Regions from separate parts of the Homo sapiens genome. Here region 2 is linked to region 1. Evidence: promoter capture Hi-C in 16 types of primary human blood cells and fetal thymus (Javierre and others, 2016). All regions are on one chromosome and are shown on one strand. The core of a region is centred on a gene start or on the middle of the fragment in contact, and the rest is flanking DNA. Distances in the headings are between cores, read along the strand shown. Region 1 has its middle 270 kb from the start of MIR3146. Region 2 holds the start of TWIST1 (twist family bHLH transcription factor 1).

What was found. Contacts are between HindIII fragments. The CHiCAGO score rates a contact against its expected background, and 5 or more counts as called.
Region 2: the fragment with the promoter of TWIST1 here is called in contact with a fragment that was not itself captured in region 1 in 4 of 17 cell types (megakaryocytes, M0 macrophages, M2 macrophages and 1 more); the score reaches 9.1 in megakaryocytes.

What each region holds. Positions count from the first base shown.
Region 1 is chr7:19,437,117-19,441,752 of GRCh38, forward strand. No RefSeq gene overlaps it. Among named protein-coding and RNA genes, the nearest start is that of MIR3146, 270 kb to the right of the region's middle. The HindIII fragment of the contact is 4,114 bases long and covers 623-4,636 here.
Region 2 is chr7:19,115,006-19,119,687 of GRCh38, forward strand. It overlaps TWIST1 (twist family bHLH transcription factor 1), which reads right to left and starts at 2,631. Exons shown (of 2, transcript NM_000474.4): 1 at 1,666-2,631; 2 at 463-1,126. The coding sequence starts at 2,316. The coding sequence ends at 1,708. RefSeq lists enhancers at 1,638-1,897, 1,921-2,704, 3,778-4,641. The HindIII fragment of the contact is 6,123 bases long and covers 1-4,682 here.

The DNA of each region.
Region 1 (4,636 bases), core at 1,430-3,929:
ATACATTTCTCAGGCTGTAAAGAGTAAGCCATTTAAAAACAGCAAATCGAGAAATTTAGAGTTGAGAAAGCCCCTGGAGGTCGTCTGGATTACCATCCCTTATAATGCCTTATATATAGCCAGAAACAGTGTATAAAATTACACTCAGAACTGATCTAGAAGACATCACTTCTCCACAAACACAATGACTTTCACTGCCGACAACATTCAGTGCTTGACTTAACTCCAGTGCTTCGAGAAATTGGATCTATAGCCCTGATTTTATCCTCACTAGAATGAATTCCAAGTATTCTCTGCTACTTTGCATCTCTGGCTCATACTGCAGGTGCTGCTGATTAGACCCTAGCTTTATGCCTGCATCTAGCTCCAAGGGTCTGAGAAAGCAGGTATCTGATATCTATGGTAGGAAAAAAAACTGTCAAACATCCACTACATTTGTCAAGATCTCTATTACAACATAGCTTCTGAAACTGAATGCATCATTCCAGATGGCTTCTGACCAATGCAGTATGCAATGCAATTAGCCACCTTGGTCTGAACAGAATGCATAATTATATTGAAGCACATGCTAAGATTATATGAGTGATTTTCATATCCACATCAAAGGGTTGGTTCACAATTAAGCTTTCAGTTAACTATAACCCTAAAACTCCGTCATCTTTTACTGCTGTTTCATCATGTGTTCTCCCATCCTGCATTTGTACATTTGTGGCTTGATTTTTTAACCCAAATATAGAACTTCATAATTAGCCCTGTTACATTTCACTTTGTTAGTTTTGGCCCATCTTTCCAATATTTTTCAATCTTTTTGAATACTGTCTCTATCATCCAATATAGTAACTACTGCTACACAGCTTTGTATTATACACGTACTGGATAAACATGCTTTTGGTTTTAGTCCAAATTCCTGATAAAAATGCTGAAAATAATATAATACATATAAAACACTGTGGGATACCACACAATATTTTCATCCACGGTGGAATCGAACCATTAATTCATATTTCAAGCCATTGACTAAATTTATCTAGAGTTATGTTCAAAATGTGTTCTTTTTTTAGTTTGCATTATGATGATGATGATGATGATGCAAAGGGACACATGAAAGATATTTAAAAGAAAATTTCTTTATGGTATAAGCATTATGCAATAAGGAAGTAGGATGTGATTAATAATCAAAGATAACATATTCTCCAATGTGTGGACAATATATTCTTAAAAAATAAAATTATAAATCCCAGATTACTATCATGTATACTTTGTAGACCTGTCATAATATCATATTACTATAAATCTCAGAGCAAACAGCAAACATTTTCTGTGAAAGACCAGATAGTAAATATTTTGACTTTGCATTCCATGTGCTTTCTCTTGGAAATACCTAACTCTGCCCTTGTAGAGAAAAAGCAGCCATAGACAATACATATATGAGTGGAAATGATTGTTCCCATAAAACTTGACTTGTAAATATATGTGGCAGGCCAGATTTGGCCCATAGGCTCTAGTTTGTCCAACTGTTTTTAGAAGATGGTCTATACAAGGCCCACAAAGTGGGCATGTGGACTCACATATAGATGAATATATTACAATATTACAATATTCCCATAGTGTATATTTAATATTTTAAAAATTTCATATACTAGGTTTTCAAGAGCCAGAACTGTCTTGTTTCTTTTTTCTTTTTTTTTTTTTTTTTTTTGAGACAGAGTCTCGCTCTGTCGCCCAGGCTGGAGTGCAGTCGTGCAATCTCCGCTCACTGCAAGCTCCGCCTCCCGGGTTCACGCCATTCTCCTGCCTTAGCCTCCCCAGCAGCTGGGACTACAGGCATACACGACCACGCCTGGCTAATTTTTTTTTTTTTTTTTTGTATTTTTAATAGAGACGGGGTTTCACTGTGTTAGCCAGGATGGTCTCGATCTCCTGACCTTGTGATCCGCCCACCTCGGCCTCCCAAAGTGCTGGGATTACAGGCATGAGCCACTGTGCCCGGCCTGTCTTGTTTCATTTTGAACTTCAGTACCTAACAATGTTCTGGCACTTGCTAGTTGCTCCATATAAGTTGGTCATTATTCAAATAGGCATTAACATGCTATTTAAAATAGAGTCAGCATTCCTAGGTGTGGTGGACCCAGTTCCTCCCTTAAGAACAAGAACAATGGGCTTCCTACCTTTAACGCTAAGAGTGCTGCTGGTAGACAGCCCTCAGCTGAAAACCCTTAGAAATTACTTAGGGTCAAGAGAGCAACCTCTTCTAAGGCCGTGTCTCCTTCCCAGGACACCCTGTTTCCAGTGACAGATCAACATGAGGGATAAGGCTGATGTCTTTATTCTAACTCAGGACAAGTCTGAAGGTCATTTTAGCTTCAGAGTTCCTAGCTGAGGTCTTCATTGAGACTGAATTACAGCTAACCCGTCTCTTCTCAAATCTTCTTCCCTAAATTTTGATTTCAAAGGACTCCTGATATAGTTTGGCTTTGTGTCCCACCCAAATCTCATCTTAAATTGTAAATCTCTAGTTGTCAAAGGAGGGAACTGGTGGGAGGTGATTAGATCACGGAGGCAGTTTTACCCCTGCTGTTCTCGTGATAGTGAGGGAGTTCTTACAAGATCTGATGGTTTAAAATGGCAGTTTCCTCTGTGCTCTCTCTCCTGCTACCATGTGAAGGTCCCTGCTTCCTCTTTGCCTTTTGCCATGATTTCCTGAGGCCTCCCCAGCAATGCTGAACTGTGAGTCAATTAAACTTCTTTTGTTTATAAATTACTCAGTTTCAGGTAGTATCTTTACAGCAGTGTGAAAATGGACTAATACAACCCACTAATAATCCTCCTGCATTCTAGTATCTGTCACAGAGTCTACTTTCCAGTGAATGCAACCTGCAACAGCAACCTACAACAAGAAGAATATTTGCTACGGTTTGAGTGTGGCCGCTGTGAAATTCAGGTGTTGCCAATGTGATAGTATTAAGAGGTAGGGCCCTTAAGAGGCGATTAGGTCATGAGGGCTCCTCCCCAAATTAAGGCCCTTATTAAAGTGGCATCATGCAGGGTTCAGCTAGCTTTCCCTTCTGCGGATGTGGTGTTCTTCCTTCTAGAGAATGCGGCAGTAAGGCACCATCTTTAAAGCAGAGAACAGCCCTCACAAGACAACGGAATCGAATCTACCAGGGCCCTGATCTCGGACTCCTGAACTGTGAGAATATAAATTCTTGTTTTTTTGTAAATTACCCAGTCTTGGGTGTTGTTTTATAGCAGCACAGAATGGACTAAGGTGGTATTTTTACTCATTATGAAGATAGTAATTTAAATGATATCCATTCGAGGTTTTTCTACCTTGAGCTAATCTCATACAGGCTAGCCTTATGAAGTATGATTTTGAAAGCTATCCTCTTATCAGAGCCCATGTGGGTTCCTTTTGACTTCCCAAAACACTCCCCTATTGCAGTTGGTTAAAATTGGTAACCATACTAATTGCTCACTATTTACATCACTATGTTTTTACAGTTCTCACAATTCCTAGAATAAGCACCTCCTAATTACTAATGTTGAGGGCCACTAAGACCTTGCCCCACCAATCTTGAAAGTTTTTAATCTTCACCAGAAGAGACAATAAATAAATCTTCAGTGAGTTTCTATTTTGGAAAGGGACTTTGTGGAATATTAGGGAACAAAAGAAGTAAATATAAGACCAAGTTTCTTTTTCACAGGAAAATTCAGTTCCTGTTAAAAGTTCCTAGTCATGTTAAGGAAGTTGCTATTAAAATTCAGTTCTAGAGATTAGACAAATTAAAGGGAAGCTAATGCTTCTAATAAATATAAAGTGCCTAAAGGGTAGTGAAGAAACTTCACAGTGTGGAACAAGATGATCATGGAAGGGAAAAATGAGGGTACTTTTAAAGGAAATGCCTTTTTTTCCCCCAAACTGCTTTTCCTCAGGTGATTTCAAAGTCATGTATATAAAATCACTTTGGGGGTAATTGAAGGCAGGAGTGAGAATAAAAAGAGAACTGAGAGAAGAAACGCTAACTTTTATTTAGCGCCTTCTGTTGCTAGGGGTCTTTTTAAGCACTTTACATCTGTTAATCATTTCATTATTAACTCTGCGAGGTGGGTTTGGTGTTTCCCACTTTACAAATTAGGGAACAGGTGTGTATAGGGAGGTCAAATACTATAGTTAGTGATACACAGCTATTCATAGTGGATTGAGACTAATTCATTCTGACTGTTTTTTTCTCTTTAAATTACATAAAAATCATATAAAACATGCTGAAAAAGACAGAAACATGTGTACATGGTAATTTCAATTGCAGCCCAGTGAAGATGCTTGTTCTGTTTTTTTTTTTAATTAGCATCAGAGGAAGAAAACCTGATAAACGGATTTCTAAATCGATAGTCAGAACTTGTTCTAGTTATATAGTATCATATGCATTTGGATTGGGTGAACTGTGAAGATTCTAAATTTTGTTCAAACAAGGTTTGTGTCCAACCATTTTACATTTAAGAACCAAAATAGCCGCCAAGCTGTGATGTTTCTAGAAAAATAGTGAAATACATTTTTTTAGTGATTAGAAATTGATAAACTGCAAGTGTTTAGCATTTTTTCAAAGATTCTTTAAATCCTGGTGTTGCATTTAAACGA
Region 2 (4,682 bases), core at 1,381-3,880, 320 kb before region 1:
TCATTTCTATATGTGTATAGATAATTTTCATAACACTATATATGTTTTCACTGAAAAGAACCTGTTATTTAGGAATCTTCACAAAGAGTGAAGAGCATGACAAAAAGTACATAATAAGAGAATAGTGCAGGTTTTATACTCCTTATTTGCATTTAACTGTTTTAACAACTATCACCTCAAAATAAAAAGGAGGTGAATAGCAAATTTGTTAAGTTTTTGCTGTTTGGAGACAGTAAGAGATGAAGAGATGCTACTAAGCCCTCTGAATACCAAACTGGAATAATAATAAAGCTGTCTTTTAAAATAACATGCTTGTGCCTGTCAGTAGCTGCTTTATTTGAGTTTTTCATTGCTTTGTTTATATTAGTGCCCCCTCCCTCCTGGGTGCCTCTAGAATTAAACAAGCAGGTATTTACCACCAACTTAATCTTTAGTTTTAAAAATATAGACCAAACTCTAAGGTTCTCTAAATTTTTTATATTTATTTATTGCAGAAAAATATACAAAGATATTTACAAAACAATCATAAAAATATGAATGCATTTAGACACCGGATCTATTTGCATTTTACCATGGGTCCTCAATAAATAAATAGAATGTTGTTTTTTGTATTTTAAGTTTTTTTTTGTTTTTCCCCTCAGAGGAAGGATGAAAAAAAGAATTAACTGACTATGGTTTTGCAGGCCAGTTTGATCCCAGTATTTTTATTTCTAAAGGTGTTCTTATAGTTCCTCTGATTGTTACCATTTTAAAATAGAGAAAGTCCATAGTGATGCCTTTCCTTTCAGTGGCTGATTGGCACGACCTCTTGAGAATGCATGCATGAAAAAAATAAAAATAAAAACATTCTTCGTCAAAAAAAAAAAAAAAAAAAACACAAACAACTGTTCAGACTTCTATCAGAATGCAGAGGTGTGAGGATGGTGCCGCTGCCCGTCTGGGAATCACTGTCCACGGGCCTGTCTCGCTTTCTCTTTTAAAAGTGCGCCCCACGCCCTGTTTCTTTGAATTTGGATTTTGCTCTTCTAATTTCCAAGAAAATCTTTGGCATATATTTTTATTTTTAGTTATCCAGCTCCAGAGTCTCTAGACTGTCCATTTTCTCCTTCTCTGGAAACAATGACATCTGCAAAAACCCAGAGGGGGGGGGGGGAGTCGGTTATTGTTTAGGTCTCTGCGGCTGTTTTCTAAGACTAGTGAGCACTGTTCTTATCACCACCACTGAGAAATTAAGCTGAACAACCTGGAAGGATTTCAGCCCAAGGGCAAGAGGAAGTGGGTGGGTGGAAAGGAGGAGGAGGTGGAATTTGTTTTAAAACATTTGTTTTAAGGAGAACAAAAATTGAAAGCCGAAAGAAAGGGTGGCGCTGACAAAACGGTCCTTACCCGTGACCCTGGGTGTCTCTGTCTCCCCTCCTGTCACGCACACTCACGCGCACACACACCCCTCACCAGGGCGCATCCCCCTGGAGACTGCTCTCCCTAGCGGGGTCAGACCGGCCTTCCGGGGACGCTGGGGGCGCGAGGCAACGGTGCCAAGTGAGGTGGGAAGGCTGAGCGGAGAGTGGGAGAGGGGAGGAAATCGAGGTGGACTGGGAACCGCGGCCTGGCCGGCCTGCCGTCTGCCACCTGAGAGGCGAAGGGGTGCAGCGGCGCGGTCCTTACCTAGGTCTCCGGCCCTGCTGAGGGGGTGGGGGGCTCCGCCTGCTAGTGGGACGCGGACATGGACCAGGCCCCCTCCATCCTCCAGACCGAGAAGGCGTAGCTGAGCCGCTCGTGAGCCACATAGCTGCAGCTTGCCATCTTGGAGTCCAGCTCGTCGCTCTGGAGGACCTGGTAGAGGAAGTCGATGTACCTGGCCGCCAGCTTGAGGGTCTGAATCTTGCTCAGCTTGTCCGAGGGCAGCGTGGGGATGATCTTCCGCAGCGCGGCGAACGCCTCGTTCAGCGACTGGGTGCGCTGGCGCTCCCGCACGTTGGCCATGACCCGCTGCGTCTGCAGCTCCTCGTAAGACTGCGGACTCCCGCCGCCGCTGCTGCTGCCGCCGCCGCCGCCCGCGCCGCCGCCGCCGCCACAGCCCGCAGACTTCTTGCCGCGCTTGCCCTGGGCCGGGCTGCCCGGCTCGTCGCCGCCTCCGACGCCCCCACCCGCGGCTCCGCCGGGCCCCGCGCCGCCGCCCGCGCTGCGCCTGCTGCTGCGCCGCTTGCGTCCCCCGCGCTTGCCGCTCGGCGGCTGCTGCCGGTCTGGCTCTTCCTCGCTGTTGCTCAGGCTGTCGTCGGCCGGCGAGACTGGCGAGCTGGACACGTCCTGCATCATCTCTCGAGCGGCGACGCGTGGCCTCGCGGGCCCGGGGCAGAGGAGAAGAGCGGGGCGCCTCAGCCCGCCAGCTTCCCCCGCGCGCGGCGCCGGCCCGGGCGATGCGGCCCGCGGAGGAGAGAGCAGGAGGACGGACGGGAGGGACCTCCGCGGGGAGGGCGCGCGGGGGAGGCGGGGAGGGAGGCGGGAGGGGGAGGGGACGGTGTGGATGGCCCCGAGGTCCAAAAAGAAAGCGCCCAACGGCTGGACGCACACCCCGCCAGGCCTCCTGGAAACGGTGCCGGTGCTGCAGAGCCCGCGAGGTGTCTGGGAGTTGGGCGAGAGCTGCAGACTTGGAGGCTCTTATACCTCCGTGCAGGCGGAAAGTTTGGGGGCAGCAGTGTCATTGGCCTGACGTGAGGAGGAGGGACTTTTCGAAGTTTTATAGGAAAGTTTCCGCTTTCCAGTCCCCCTCCCCCGTCCCACCTCCCTTCCTCGGGGTCTAACAATTCGTCCTCCCAAACCATTCAAAAACGACCTGGCCCGGGCGGCCGGCCCCTCCACCCGCCTCCTAGCCGCCCTCCCCCTTCCCTCCCCGTCGCCTTCCTCCGGCGGGCGCGGGGCGATTTCCTTCCCCGCCGGAGCGTGCGGGCAGCGCCCCCGAACCCTAGCGCAGCCCAGGAAGCGGTCGGAGGAGACTGTCCTGGCCGCGGTGGCAGCCCCATCCGGAGTGGCTGTGACAGCAGCAATGGCAACAGCTTCTACACAGTGGGTGATGTCTCATCTCGCCCAAGAGCCCTCTAGGTCCGTGGGGCCGATTTGGGATTGCTGGGGCTGGGGGGGTGGTGTGGCGCGGGGTGGGGGGGCATGCCAAGAAAAGTGTCAACCGCGGAGCCCACCCAATGGTCAGGTAGACGAACCCCTTGGAGTTCCAAAGGCCAAACCGCGGCGGCCCAGCCCGGAGGTCCTGGGCGTTTCTGAAGACGTGGCCGCGCCGCGGGGGCTGAGGATTTGCGTCCCGGCCTGCTCTCTCGCCCTTCTGGGCCCTCCTTTCCCCTCTACAACGACCCAGTCTGACGCTCCCCAACATCCAAAGGACTACGCCTCGGAAGGTGCTCGAAAGAGGCAGAAGTTCACTCTTCGGTGGAAGGAAACCCAGTCCATGGGAAAGGCAGCAGAGCCAGAGGGGGGCAGCGCAGCGCCTTTGCTGCGGCCCTAACAGCTGGCAATGCCAACCCAAGGGAGAGACCCTGTGGCCATTTCATCCCCACCCCCAAATTAGGCTCCGCATTGTGACCTTGAAAGGCCAGCTTGTAAGAGAGTGAAGTGGGAATTTGATAGCGCCTAGACATAGGGGCTGCCCGCTCTGAGACCCCCCCCGCCCCAGCCCCCACTATCTAGGGCATCCAGTGGACAATTAGGCTTCGTGAGCCCCAATTCCAAATGCTTGGATACGCTAACATTTTAAGCATTTCTGTCTGTAAGTTAAAACGAAGAGCCCCAAAGAGGGTGTTAATGTAGATCCTGGCAAACTGGAAGCAGCAAAGTTGGTGAACCAGAAAGGAAGTCGCCTTGGATAAGAAGCCCATCTTTTGCAATGCCATACTTGTTTCCTTTTTGAAATGAATTGAGGTAAAATAACCGTTTCAGGTCCATCCCTTACATGGCAAAGTAAAAAGCTGGAGTCAGTACACAGTGTTGGGGTGGGGGCAGCGTTTGGGGGCGACGAGTTTTGTGCACCGCGCTGGAGTACCCTGCACATAAGGTCCGCTCATGGGCTTCTCAGTACGGACTCGCCGGCGGGAACAATTAATTGAGCAAAGCGCCCCTTTCTGGGCTGGAGCAAGGTTCGCGGCTGCAGATATCTCAAGCTGAAGGCAAGAGCCCAGGCGAGGCGCAGGCAGGCCACGTGGCTGTTCCCTGCTGAGACTCGCAGCTTTGGTCTTGGAAACCTCAGGGTGTGGAGCTGCTTGGGCCGACTGAAGGGTTCAGCTTTTTGGGAGAAGTGAGGGCGAGTGTTATTTCTCCAGCGAGGTGTAAACAAGACTGTGCTTTCATGGGAGGGACAAATTGCAGAGTTGATCCCTTACCATTTTTACAGAAATACTCAGAAAGTGACTACAGCTTGTCAACTGGCCTGTTTAGTGAGCCGCTGCCTTACTGTAAAATTGTCTGAAAATCAGATTCGACTTGACCTCCACTTAATTTCAGTAGCACTCTAGCAGTTCTCAAAACAGTCACCCCTGCACCCTTGCGTTTGCATCTTCCGCTACAGGATTTTATCTCTTGGAAGCGCTTAGAGAATGCGGCAGAAATTCTGCCCCACTCTCCACCAAGTGTTCTTTTTGTAAATCTGAATTTACAGTATTCTGCAATTCTTATTTAGA